2 separate regions of the Homo sapiens genome follow, and region 1 is linked to region 2. The links are contacts of gene promoters, found by promoter capture Hi-C in human tissues and cell types (Jung and others, 2019). All regions are on one chromosome and are shown on one strand. Each heading gives the region's core, a stretch centred on a gene start or on the middle of the fragment in contact. The rest is flanking DNA. Distances are from core to core; before and after follow the strand shown.

Region 1 (5,941 bases), core at 3,245-5,744, 460 kb after region 2:
CTCAAGCTGGTCTCGAACTCCTGGGCTCAGGCAATGTGCCCGCCTCGGCCTCCCAAAGTGCTGGGATTATAGGTGTGAGCAACCTCACCCGGCCAAGACACTGGTGTTTTAAAAGATAACAGAGAAACATAGGAGACCAGAGATTAGTGTTGGAGTTCTGGGGTCAGATCCCAGCTCTTCTATATATATTTGTTATTAGCTTGTAAAGAAGACACTTAAGCTCTCTGTACTACTTTTCATACAACTGTAACTGGGGCTTAATAATGTTTACCTTATGGTATTGTTATGATAGGTATGGTGGATGGAAGCTTGGATGGGAGGAAAGAGTCATTGACAAGTGTACTCTATCAACAAAACTGGCCGTAAGTATCTGGAAGAGGCAGAGGCCCAGGAGATGTGTACCTTTTCACAAACCCGGCAACCCTGGATTACCAATTGTGTTGCCAAATTGTTGCAGTTGCATTAAGATGTCACATTCATAGCTCTTTTTACTTTTTCAATGTTTTCATTGGAATCTTTCACTTTTATTCTGAGAAACAGATGTTAAAAGAAAAACTGTAGCCAAATTAAATTTAAAAGAGTTTAATTGAGCAAAGAACAATTTGTGAATCGGGCAGCCTCCTGAGCCAGAGTATGCTCAGAGACTCCAGCGCAGCCACATGGTGGAAGATTTATGGCCAGAAAAAGGAAAATGACAAACAGAAAAAAGAAGTGAGGAGGAGAAACAGCTGGATGGGTTACAGTTCGGTGTTTGCCTTATTTGAACACGTTTGAACAGTTGGCCATCCTTGACTGGCCAAAACTCAATGATTGACACAAAAGTAGACTACAGCCTGTATACAGCTCCATTTAGGTTATAGTTCATGATGTACAGAGAAACCTTTAGGCTGAACTTAAGATATGTAAGGAGGCAGCTTTATGCTAAACGTGATTTAACACTGGTAAGGCAAAGGCTATCAGTTGGATTTTCCAGATGAGAACACAGGCCAGGCACAGTGGTTTACGCCTGTAATCCCAGCACTTTGGGAAGCCAAGGTGGGAGAATCACTTCAGGCCAGGAGTTTGAGACCAGCCTGGGGAGCATGGTAAAACCCTGTCTCTACTAAAAATACAAAAATTAGCCAGGCATGGTGGCACACACCTGTAATCTCAGCTACTCGGGAGGCTCAGGCAGGAGAATAACTGGAACTCGGGAGGTGGAGGTTGCAGTGAGCCAAGGTCATGCCGCTGCACTCCAGCCTGGGCGACAGAGTAAGACTCCATCTCAGAAAAAAAAAAAAATTGCATAACAAAACCTTCTCTCTGGAAGACAGCAACTGCAGTCTTTACCACCAGAGAATCTCATGTATGGCTTCCACATGGCTGTGAATAAATGATTTTGTCCTGCAATCTCCTCCTTTGTCTGGCTGAGTTTATAAAGTGCTTGCTACTCAGGCATCAAGAGTATTTCAGCAGACATCTGCACATCCATTTGCTTATACTTTCATCCTATAATTATTTAATTACCTTCTTTTAGTGCCTATAAATAAGAGCTCTGTCATCTGAGAAAAGCCCAGGAAAAATAGAAGGACCATAGAATTTATTTTATTTTATTTAATTTATTTTTTTTTTTTGAGACTGAGTTTTGCTCTTGTCGCCCAGGCTGGAGTGCAATGGCACGATCTCGATTCACTGCAAACTCTGCCACTGGGGTTCCAGCAATTCTCCTGCCTCAGCCTCCAGAGTAGCTGGGACTATAGGCATGCACCACTACATCTGGTTAATTTTGTATTTTGAGTTAACTTCAGGTGATTTCGCCTGCCTCGGCCTCCCAAAGTACTGGGATTACAGGTGTGAGCCACTGCACCTGGCCAGAAGGGCCGTAGAATTGAAATTCAGGTGGGAAAACCACTTTCCCATCTTGGCATGCACAACAATGCCCCCTGTTGACTGAGGCATGCCAGCTTAAAAACAACAACAAAAACAAAGAGTAAGAAAAAAACCAAAATAAAACAAAACAGTCCTCCCCGCAATAACAACCAGCTTTATTGAGGTATAATTGTTATACAATAAATTGTCCTACTTAAAGGGTACAATTTGATGAGTTTTAACATGAGCATATGCTGGTGAAACCACTGCAGTCAAGATAATGAACGTTTCTATCCCAGACAGCTTTTCCATTTCAGGGCAAACAGGGTGAGCACCTAGTTCAATACTATGTGGTAAAAGCTATACCCTCCTTTTAAAAATAATAGCACCGGCCCCTGCAGGGCCTTATTTATTTATTTATTTATTTTGTAGAGATAAGGTCTCCCTATGTTGCCCAGGCTGGTCTCAAAACTCCTAGGCTCAAGTGATCTTCCTGCCTTGGCCTCCCAAAGTGCTGGGATTACTGGTGTGAGCCACCACACCCGGCTAAGGGCCCTCTTTATTTCAGTGTCTGTTCTCATTGGAAAGAGAGCCCTCCATTTGATCTGTATGTGGCCTTTCCTCCTCTCGTCCAGTTACAAGGCTTGTCATTCTGTTGAAGGCTAACTTCTGTGGTGCTTTGGTTCTTATCCTCTTCCAGCTTTCTAGAGATTCCTTTTTAGGGAGCAGTCTCTCTCTCTGCTGAATCATTCACTTATCTACTAGCTCCTTTTCAATAGTAAAAACAAATACAAACAAAGCAAACAAACAAAATTAGTACCTCTTTCTGCCTCCCCCTTCCTCCCTTTAGGCACCCCTTGCTGTACCTCATGCCTTCTTTTCTCGGCCAGACTTCCAGAAATAATTGTCCAAACTCACTCTCTCTCTCTCCACTTCCTCACTTCCCTCACTCTCTTAAAGCCACCCCCACCACCACCACCACACAGATACTATTCTTGACTAGGTCACTCACTACTTCCCTGTTGCTCAGTCCACTGGACCCAACTCAGTCCTTATCATACTCAGACACTGTTGACCATTCTGTCCTTTAAAAAATAGCTTTGTTTTTACAAAAGCAATTGATGCTTTACAAAAAAAAAAAAAGGCAAACAATAAATGAAAGAATTAGGAGGCTCCTCCATGGTTCACTTGGTCTCACTGCTGCAAACAGGGCCAGTACTGCAAGAACTCTCAGCAGCCAGCCAGCCACCCAGTGCAGCTGCCCAATTCACAGAGCAGCCCCAGAAAGTCCCAGAAATTAGTCACTGTAGCCTTCTAATTTGGGGAAATTTTCTTTTTTTTCCTCTTTTTTTTTTTTTTTTTTTGAGACTAAGTCTCACTCTGTTGCCCAAGCTGGAGTGCAGTGGTGCGATCTCAGCTCACTGCAACCTCCACCTCCCGGGTTTAAGCGATTCTCCTGCCTCAGCCTCCCAAGTAGCTGGGACTACAGGCACATGCCACCACGCCCAGCTAATTTTTTTGTATTTTTAGTAGAGACGGGGTTTCACTGTGTTGGCCAGGCTGGTTTTGAACTCCTGACCTTGTGATCAGCCTGCCTCAGTCTCCCAAAGTGTTGGGATTACAGGCGTGAGCCACCGCACCCAGCTGGGAAATTTTCATACTTGCTCTTTCATAGACATTATGGAAGCTTTGCAAATTTTTTTTTTTTTTTTTTTGAGATGGAGTCTCGCTCTGTGGCCTAGGCTGGAGTGCAGTGCCACGATCTCGGCTCACTGCAACCTCCGCCTCCTGGGTTCAAGCAATTCTCCTGTCTCAGCCTCCTGAGTAGCTGGGATTACAGGCACGCACCACCAAGCCTGGGTAATTTTTGTTTTTGTTTTTTGTTTTTGAGACAGAGTTTTGCTCTTGTTGCCCAGGCTGGAGTGCAGTGGTGCAACTTCGGCTCACTGCAACCTCCGCCTCCCAGTTTCAAGCGATTCTCCTGCCTTAGCCTCCCTAGTAGCTGGGATTACAGGCATGCGCCACCAGGCCTAGCTAATTCTGTATTTTTAGTAGAGACAGGGTTACTCCACGTTGGTCAGGGTGGTCTCGAACTCTCAACCTCAGGTGATCCTCCCGCCTCAGCCTCCCAAAGTGCTAGGATTACAGAGGTGAGCCACATGCTTGGCCTTGTATTTTTAGTAGAGATGGGGTTTCACCATGTTGGTCAGGCTGGTCTCGAACTCCTGACCTCATGATCTGCCCACCTCAGGCTCCCAAAGTGCTGGGATTACAGGCATGAGCCACCGCACCCAGCTGGACAAATTTTATATAAATAAGTACATACATACATGATCGGATGCGGTGGCTCACACCTGTAATCCCAGCACTTTGGGAGGCCAACGCAGGTGGATCACCTGAGGTTGGGAGTTCGAGACTAGTCCGACCAATATGGTGAAACCCCATCTCCACTAAAAATACAAAAATTAGCCGGATGTGGTGGTGCGTGCCTGTAATCCCAACTACTTGGGAGGCTGAGACAGGAGAACTGCTTGAACCGGGAGGCAGAGGTTGCAGTGAGCTGAGATTGCGCCACTGCACTCCAGCCTGGACCACAGAGCAAGATTTCATCTCAAAAAAAAAAAAAAGGAAGGAATGCCATCATCCCAAACCAGGTGTTCTGGGAATGGGGTTGGCAGATTAACAAACAAACAAACAAACAAACAAACGTACATACATATATAAACAGAGAAGGGCCTATATTCAGTAACTCTTCAATTCTGGTCCTAAAAGTGGCTTTCAATCCTGCCCTAGAGATGACACAATCCTGGATCTACGTAACTAGCCCATGTTGGTCACTTTGAGCAGGAAGCCAGTCAGGGCATGGCTTTCCTGATAGCTACCAGTCATGTTCCCCTCCTTAAAGCTTATCTTTAAGAGAATGACAGGAACGAAGCACACAGACATATGGGATCTTGGGAGGCTGACCAAGTCATTTTAAAGGCTTATGCATTTTTAGACACATACAGAAAAATGGGTTTCTCATGACCAGTGATTTTACCCAACATAAGAAGGAAATAAAAGTCACCGCCAAAATCCCACCGCCCATAGCATCCATACCAATTTTGGTGAATATCCTTTAGACATCTTTATGCAGTATATATACCTAGAGGTATATGAATATAGTTTCACATATGTGAGATGATAATTTATATATTATTCTGTAATTGCTACATTTACTGAGAATATGCAATGGGTAGATTTCCAAGTCAATAACCGTAGACTAACACCACGATTGTTAATGATCAACAGCTATTTGTAATATTTACAAACCATGATTTATGCAACCTTTCTCCTGTTGTTGGCCATTTCGGTTGTTTGCATTGTTTAATATTGTAAACTACACGTGAAAAACATCCTGTGTTCTGCTTTTGTGCAATTTTCTCCTCAGGGTAATTTCTAGAAGTGGACAAGTTCAATACAATGGTGTGTCCATTTTATGATACAGTTACCTGACTGTCTTCTGGAAATTTTACTCCTACCAACACTGGATTTAAGGACATGTTTGCCCCACTGTCAACAACATTGAGTTTTATCGATTTCTGATTTTAGATATGGGTCTTGTAGTCTGATTCTGTTTTTGGACTAATTTAAATATATTTCTTTCAATAACAGTTTATTTCATTCACATAATTTTAATTATTAGATGTGACTCTCATTCTGTCTTTCTGTTTTGTTTTCTATTGTTATGCTTGCTTGGCATATATTGTTTTCTGTCTTTCAGTAAAGTATATGTTCTTCAGATTTTTTTTTCTTCCGGTAATTTTGAGAGGATTTTATCTGCTTTAAAAAAGTTCTAGGCCAGGCGTGGTGGCTGTCGCCTGTAATCCCAGCACTTCGGGAGGCCAAGCTGGGTAGATCACTTTGAGGTCAGGAGTTCGAGACCAGCCTGGCCAACATGGTGAAACCCCGTCTCTACTAAAAATACAAAAAATTAGCCGGGCATGGTGGCATGTGCCTGTAATCCCAGCTACTTGAGAGGCTGAGGCATAAGAATTGCTTGAACCCTGGGAGGCGGAGGTTGCAGTGAGCCAAGATCATGCCACTGTACTCC
Region 2 (6,867 bases), core at 923-3,422:
AGTATTCAACATGTCCTGGATTCCCATTTCTCATCTGTTTAGATCAAAGAAGAACAATGGAGCTTGGGTCATAGGGTTGTATGACATGATTAACAGACTCAAAGGCACTATGAAAAATTTAAAGTTCTAAAGAAATACAGAGGGAGATAGTAATAAATCATGCTTCTTTTTGCTGGCCAAAACCCATCAGATGCCTGGTCCAATGCCTGGCAGGGAGCAGGGTGTGTGGTCCCAGTACCCGGGGTACAGACTAGGTTGTGGCCCCATTGCCCCTCTCCTCTGGCACTCTGGGTGTTGGTCCTTTTGCCTTTGTCATAGGGAGAGATGAAGAGTAGCAAACACCAACTATGGTTTCCCAAAACCAAGGAAGAGGGTGCTCCTAGAACCTTTACTTCCAGCCAACCTCTCTGCTCCTGCAGAAGAGAAATGAGCAGGAAAAGAAGGAGGCCAAAGAATAGATGGGGTTAAGGCCAATCAGAGAATCAGAAGCCCGGCTGGAGGGACAAGCACTCCAATCCCAGGCATGATGCCAAGTCACCAACTTCTCCAGCAAACAACTTACCAGACCAGTTACAACTCCACTCGAGGAGGAATGAACCCACCTGGTCTGAAATGGCAGTCACAGACCCCTCCTCACATTTCCAGATAACTAGCGATCCTGGAGCTGGCCCCTCCCCAGCAGACTAGGGCCCTCCCTGGCTGAGGGAGATGGGGAAATGGGTGGGGAGAAAGGAGGGGCGTTGGGGTTATAGGCATTCCCCGCCCAGCGCCCCCCGCGCCCCCCTCCCCCCGTCCCCGGCCCAGGAAGATGTAATGTTTTAAGACTTTTTAGGATCGCACTTATTCAAACCCCTGCGCATCCTCCCCATGTCGTGAGTTCACCCGTCTTAGCCCCGAATCCAACCCTGGTATAGCTGTCGGGAATAAAGTTTTTCCTTGATGCGGACGCGAGCTTCTACTTCTTGGGAGAGGAGTGGAGAGAGAATAGCCCAGATGAGTGTCTGTGGGGAACTTGAGGTGGGAGGGTTAAGGGACTAGATTTGCACTCTCCTCCCGGGAGATGGGACCATTGCAGCCACTAAAGGGAACAGAGTGGTGGTGACCGAGCTCCAGGCAGCAGAGCCGAGCTCCAGGCAGCAGAACCGGCGGACCGCGAGAGCCAGGGCAAGGTCTCCGCGTGTGCACACTTCGGGGAAGGGCAGGGGCACGTGAGCATCCCCGCGGCTCGCTCGCTCTCGCTTTCGGTGGCTTCTCCTCTCCTTCTTGGCTCACGGGCTCTGTCCCGGGTCGCTCCCTAGCCACGCGCCGCCCTCCAGGAATCTCCCTCGTCTTCTCCTGTCTCTCCCGCGCACTCCTCAGCCCAGTACCAGCTCCAAATGCAGGTCGTGCCATCTCCGCCCAGTGCAGCCGTCAGAGTCCCGGTCTCCGCTCCCCAGGCTGCTGTCCCCTGTCTTGGCTGCCTCGGGCTATGTCCACGGCCGGGCACCCAGCACCCCAGCTCGTCCGCCTCGGTCAGCGCTTAGCCTTGCGGTCTCCCCTGGCTCGTTTCCCTCGGTCTCCACGCCAGCCCGCCCCGCTTGCTCCCGCTTCGCTGCACTCCTTGCTCCTCAGTCTGGGCTCCGGGTCCTGCCCCAGTCTTCCTCCGGGGGGTTCCGTCCTCAACACGCCCCTAGGGCCCCCAGCAGTCCGGCCTTGGTACCCTCTCCCCGTCCGGATCCGCAGGGTCCCCCCCGCGCGGGGTCCGCCCTCAGGTCCGCGCCGCTCTCCCCGGGTCCGCCCCTCGCGCCCGCTCCCTCCCTGCTCGCCCTTCCCCTGGCTCCGTCCGCAACCGCCCGGTCCGGGGCGCTTTCACTCACCCTCGCTCGGCGCGGGCAGCAGCAGCAACAGCAGCGGCAGCAGGAGCCGGGGCCAGAGCGGGGCGGGCGGGCGGCGCGGAGACGCGGCGCGCTGCACAGCCATGGGGCTCTCGGTCAGCTCGGCTCGGCGACGCGCGGCTCCCGGGCCTCTCGCGGCTCACAGCGTCCCGCGGGGCCGGCGCCGGGGCCGGGGCTGGGGCTCCGGCCGGGGCCGAGCCCAGGCGGTGGGGGACTGGGGCCGCATGCCTGCTCAGCAGCGCGGGGGGCGCAGGGGGAGCGCCGCTTGCGCCATCTTGCACCCACCCGGGCGATCTGTCAGCCTCGCCCGGGGTGCGCGCTCCACACTCGCACCGCTCGCGGCCGCCCCGCCCTCCTCCCCAGCCCGCCGCCCCCCTCCTCTCTGCTCCCGGTCCCCTCCCCCAGCCCCCTCTCCCCGGAGGCCCGGTCTGGGGAACAAAAGAGCCGGCGAGCGCTTTAAGCGGCCGGACATTCCCGGCTGCGCGGCGGACGCGCCCCCTGCGCTTTGAACTGTGGCTGGAGCGGCCGGCGCCGTCCCGGGCTGCAGCCGGGTATCCCCTCCCCGCGGGCCAGCCGGGGACCTGGGGGGCTGAGGAAGTGGACACCAGCGGACTGGGGAGTGGGTCCGGGCTGCGGAAAGACACACAGCTGCGGGATTTGCTCTGACCCACTCTTTCTGCTGCGCCCTCCTCCAAGTCCATATTTTAGAGATAATTCTCTAAAAAGCTGCGTAAAGTTGTCAAAGATTCAGTTTTCCATGGATTTCTGGTCCTTCCACTCAAAGGATAGATCCTGTAGCTGCAAGCTTGGCTTCTCTGGACCGAGGAGTCCTGGCGCTCCGCTGGGGAGGATTGCCTGGAGAGAGCAGACCCAGCAGCAGGACAATGAGAGCTCTAAAGGGGCCTGGCTTCCGACCTGGGTTCTGCCTGCTGCCTAGCCCAGTCACTCTCACTGAGCTCATCTGAAAGATGAAAATAATCTTATCTCTCCTGTTCATCCCTAGAGACCTTTAAACCGCAGAGGTCCTGACAAATGACCTGGTAACTGGAAAAGCACATAGAAAGTTAAAATTCCCAGTAACGTTTCTGTGCCACAAAGAAGGCCCTCAATCGTTCATGTCAGAGAACATATAAGGAGACAACAGAGGTCCCACGTGAGAATGTTACAGAAGATAAGCATGTCTTTTAGCAGAGACATACCCATACTAGCCCTCAGAGATCTTGAATCTCAGCCACTCTCTATTAAATGGTCTTCTGTTGAGTCCAGCATGATGGACTAGTCCATCAAAATTATTGAGCAGCTACTAAGTTCTAGGAGCTAGAGAATTAAAGCTGGCAGGCTAGGCTTAGTGGCTCACACCTGTAATCCCAGCACTTTGGGAGGCCGAGGTGGGCAGATCACTTGAACCCAGGAGTTCAAAACCAGCCTGGGCAACATGGTGAAAACCTGTCTCTACAAAAAATACAAACATTAGCCAAGCATGGCGGTGCATGCCTGGAGTCCCACTGTATTCCAGCCTGGGCAACACAGACCCTGTCTCAATAAATAAATAAATAATAAAAGTTGGCCTAATGTAGCTATTTGCTCCTTTGGCACTGGACTGGGATGGCAGAGGAAAAACTAAGTCTTTCTTTTGATACCAACTCTGGAACTTTGGGACCATGTACGAAACTAACGGTGGCTCACGCCTGTAATCCCAGCACTTTGGGAAGCTGAGGCGGGTGGATTACCTGATGTCAGGAGTTCGAGACCAGCCTGACCAATGTGATGAAACACCATCTCTACTAAAAATACAAAAAAATTAGCCGGGCGTGGTGGCAGGCGCCTGTAATCCCAGCTACTCGGGAGGCTGAGGCAGGAAAATAGCTTGAACCCGGGAGGCAAACGTTGCAGTGAGCTGAGATTGCACCATTGCACTCCAGCCTGGGCGACAGAGCAAGACTCCGTCTCGAAACAAACAAACAAACAAAAAACTAACTTTGATACGGATAAGTAAGGAAGTACAGGCCTCCAGAAATCAGAGTGCCTGTAGATGGACAGGTTTACTAATGATGAGGTTGGCATAGCTCAGGACTGTTCACTCTAGGGCAGCTACTGGAAGATGAGCCTGAGAAGCAGGACATGAGGCATGTGAACAGCGGGAAGCAATGGAAAAATTCTAGGTGGAGGACTCCAATGTGCCAAAGCCCTATTGGATTTCATTGTGAGAAAGGGTGGGAGTGGTGGTCTACTGGCCTTAGGAAAGGGAGGGGAAGGGCCCTCCCTGGGCCTAAAATCCTGGAACTCCCTCCTGCAGGGCTTGAATTCTCAACAACCCCTTCTTGGCTTGTCCTGGACTCTGAAGAGGTCAAATTGGTCTCTTGAATTGCTGTCATTTTAAATTCATTTTGACAAGTGTTTAATTCTTCTTTATCACAACCCTTGGTCTGAGAGTGATATGCAAATAATGGCTATTCTGCCGAGTGCAAAATGTGCAGTATCTCTCTGTCTGATCTGTCAATTAACTCTGGGTCTGGCCCACCACTTTGGGGGTGGTCCTGAGCAAAGCAGCCTCTAGCTCTTGATTCCCTCCAATAGAAAGCATGTTCCGGGCTCTGTAAAGATCTTAGCAGACAGCAGCTGCCAACTGTGATGCCAAGATGTGTGTGGGGTGTGAGTGTGGAGTTTTGTGTGTGAGACTGTGTGCACATTTGCATTAACGGACAGACACAAGGGTGTTTGTGAAGGCAAAGTATGCATGTGCGGGTCTCTGAGCTTGTACACACAGTGCACGTGTGTGTGATTGTGTGGCCATGAGTAATTTTGGTGACCAGAGTTATACAGGAGAATAGTTGTGGAGCCCAAATCTCTGGAGTTGTTCCCTCTTTCCTGCACCCAAAAAAGTTCAGAGAAATGTGTGCCCAGATGGAAAGAGATCCCCAGAGAGTCTAAGGAAGTGCCATCAAAGGACACATCTTTCCTAAGTTTACGTCTTTTTCCTAAGTGCCTGTTGAGGGAGGAAGATGGTTTAGTTCTTTCCCATGACCACCTGCTTTTTACCCTCAAAAACCACCATTTTGAGCCGGGCGCAGGGGCTTATGCCTGTAATTCCAGCACTTTGGGAGGCCAAGGCGGGCAGATTACCTGAGGTCAGGAGTTTGAGACCAGCCTGGCTAACATGGTGAAACCCCGTCTCTACTAAAAATACAAAAATTAGCCGGGTGTGGTGGTGCATGCCTGTAATCCCAGCTATTCGGGGGGCTGAGGCAGGAGAATCACTTGAACCCGGGAGGCAGAGGTTGCAGTGAGCCGAGATCATGCCACTGCACTCCAGCCTAGGCGACAAAGTGAGATTAGTCTGAAAAAACAAACAAACAAACAAACAAACAAACAAAACACTATTTTGGGCCAAGAGGCAGTGGCTCATGCTTGTAATCGAGCACTTTTCGAAGCTGGGGCAGGAGGATGGTTTTAGCCCAGGAGTTCGAGACCAGTCTGGGTAAGATAACGAGACCACATCTCTATAACAAAAATTTTTTTTAATATTAGCCAGGCATGGTGGCATGTGCCTGTAGTCCCAGCTACTAGGGAGGCTACAGTGACAAGACTGCTTGAACCCAGGAAGTTGAGTCTGCAGTGAGCTGTGATTGTGCCACTGCACTCCAGCCTGGGCGACAGAGAGATCCCATCTCAAAAACAACAACAACATCATTTCCCATCACAGTAAGAAATAAAATCCCTAGGGCACAAAGGCTGAGGAAATTCTAGTCATGGTCAATGGTTCCAAAAGAGAATTCCACATTTCTGGAAAATAGTTTATTAATTCATTATAAGGACAGATACATGAATCAATGCCTTAGCTTAACACTAAAGAGTATCATATTTGTAAGGAGAAAAAAAAAACGCTGGAAGGATAATTAAATAGTACAGCATAAACTAAATACAGACAAATAAATGAGCAAGTACTGATTACACTTGTCATGCATCAAGAAAAGGAAGATTTTTAATTGAGACTCAGAAAACTTAAGGCATCAATGGTAGGTGACAAAGGGATTAATACCCTGTAAAAGGCCAATAGATTCTTTTCTAATAAAAATACTGCTACAAAGACACAAACCTAACACTTCCAAATTACCCAGAGCCCAAATCATATATAGTGCTAGTGAGAAATGGCCACTTTCTTATCAACTGTGAGTTATAGGCAGATACCAGATTTATTACTTATTTGCTTTTGAGAAACAATTTTCCACCCAACCTAATGGGTTATAAATTGTCTCATTTGCAGCTATTTAATTTAAACCAGAACCTCAGTGCCTGTTAAACAAGAACATGAAAAATGACTATGTGGTATAATGCTAAGAGCCTACTGTTAAAACAGCCATTTAATTCAGGGCAGTTTTTTTTTCTTCTTTAAAAAAAAAAAATCAAACCAGCAAAATAAAATGAGGCTTTTGACCTTCAGAGCAATGATGAAACATACACAGTGGTGTTAGCCACAGCAGCGCTGAATGCTACAGAAATACTACAAGTGACAATTCTGTCTTTAACGAGATACAAAACCAACATTAATAATCTTTAGTGTTATCATAGGCTGGCTGAAGGAGGGGGAGGAGGTGGAAACGTAGGTGCAGACATCAACAGTGAGTGACACCCGAGTATAATAAACACAGATGCTTTCAGGGTTTGAGGAAGCCGCAACTGTGCTGAGAGACATTCCACCATTTAAAAAAAAAAAAAAAAAAAAGGAAAAATGGACTGGTTATTTCGAATTTGGCCCAGAAGGCAGAGTTAACTCTTGATGTGCCAATCAGACATCATTAGGGAGTAAAGACCCTAACATTCTATGCTCCTATGAGAGGGCTGAGGTGAAAAACCAAATAAATGACATTGTTTTCACTACACAGAAAATAGAAGTCAAGCTTGTCCCTGTGCGGCAGGTGAACAGAAAATGACTTGAGGATTCAATTTAAAGAAAAAACAAACTGAAATGAGCTACCCCTTTTCCTGTGCAAAG

The links. Contacts are between HindIII fragments. The study calls those that stand out against the background at their distance.
Region 1: a contact is called between a fragment that was not itself captured here and the fragment with the promoter of IGDCC3 in region 2, in 1 of the 25 tissues and cell types used here (dorsolateral prefrontal cortex).

What each region holds. Positions count from the first base shown.
Region 1 is chr15:65,834,991-65,840,931 of GRCh38, forward strand. The region is part of intron 1 of LOC105370866 (a long non-coding RNA gene); the gene reads left to right. Among named protein-coding and RNA genes, the nearest start is that of TRQ-CTG1-4, 31 kb to the right of the region's middle. The HindIII fragment of the contact is 5,146 bases long and covers 1,922-5,941 here.
Region 2 is chr15:65,375,830-65,382,696 of GRCh38, forward strand. It overlaps IGDCC3 (immunoglobulin superfamily DCC subclass member 3), which reads right to left and starts at 2,173. Exons shown (of 14, transcript NM_004884.4): 1 at 1,857-2,173. The coding sequence starts at 1,959. It overlaps IGDCC4 (immunoglobulin superfamily DCC subclass member 4), which reads right to left. Exons shown (of 20, transcript NM_020962.3): 20 at 5,655-6,867. The HindIII fragment of the contact is 8,726 bases long and covers 1-4,725 here.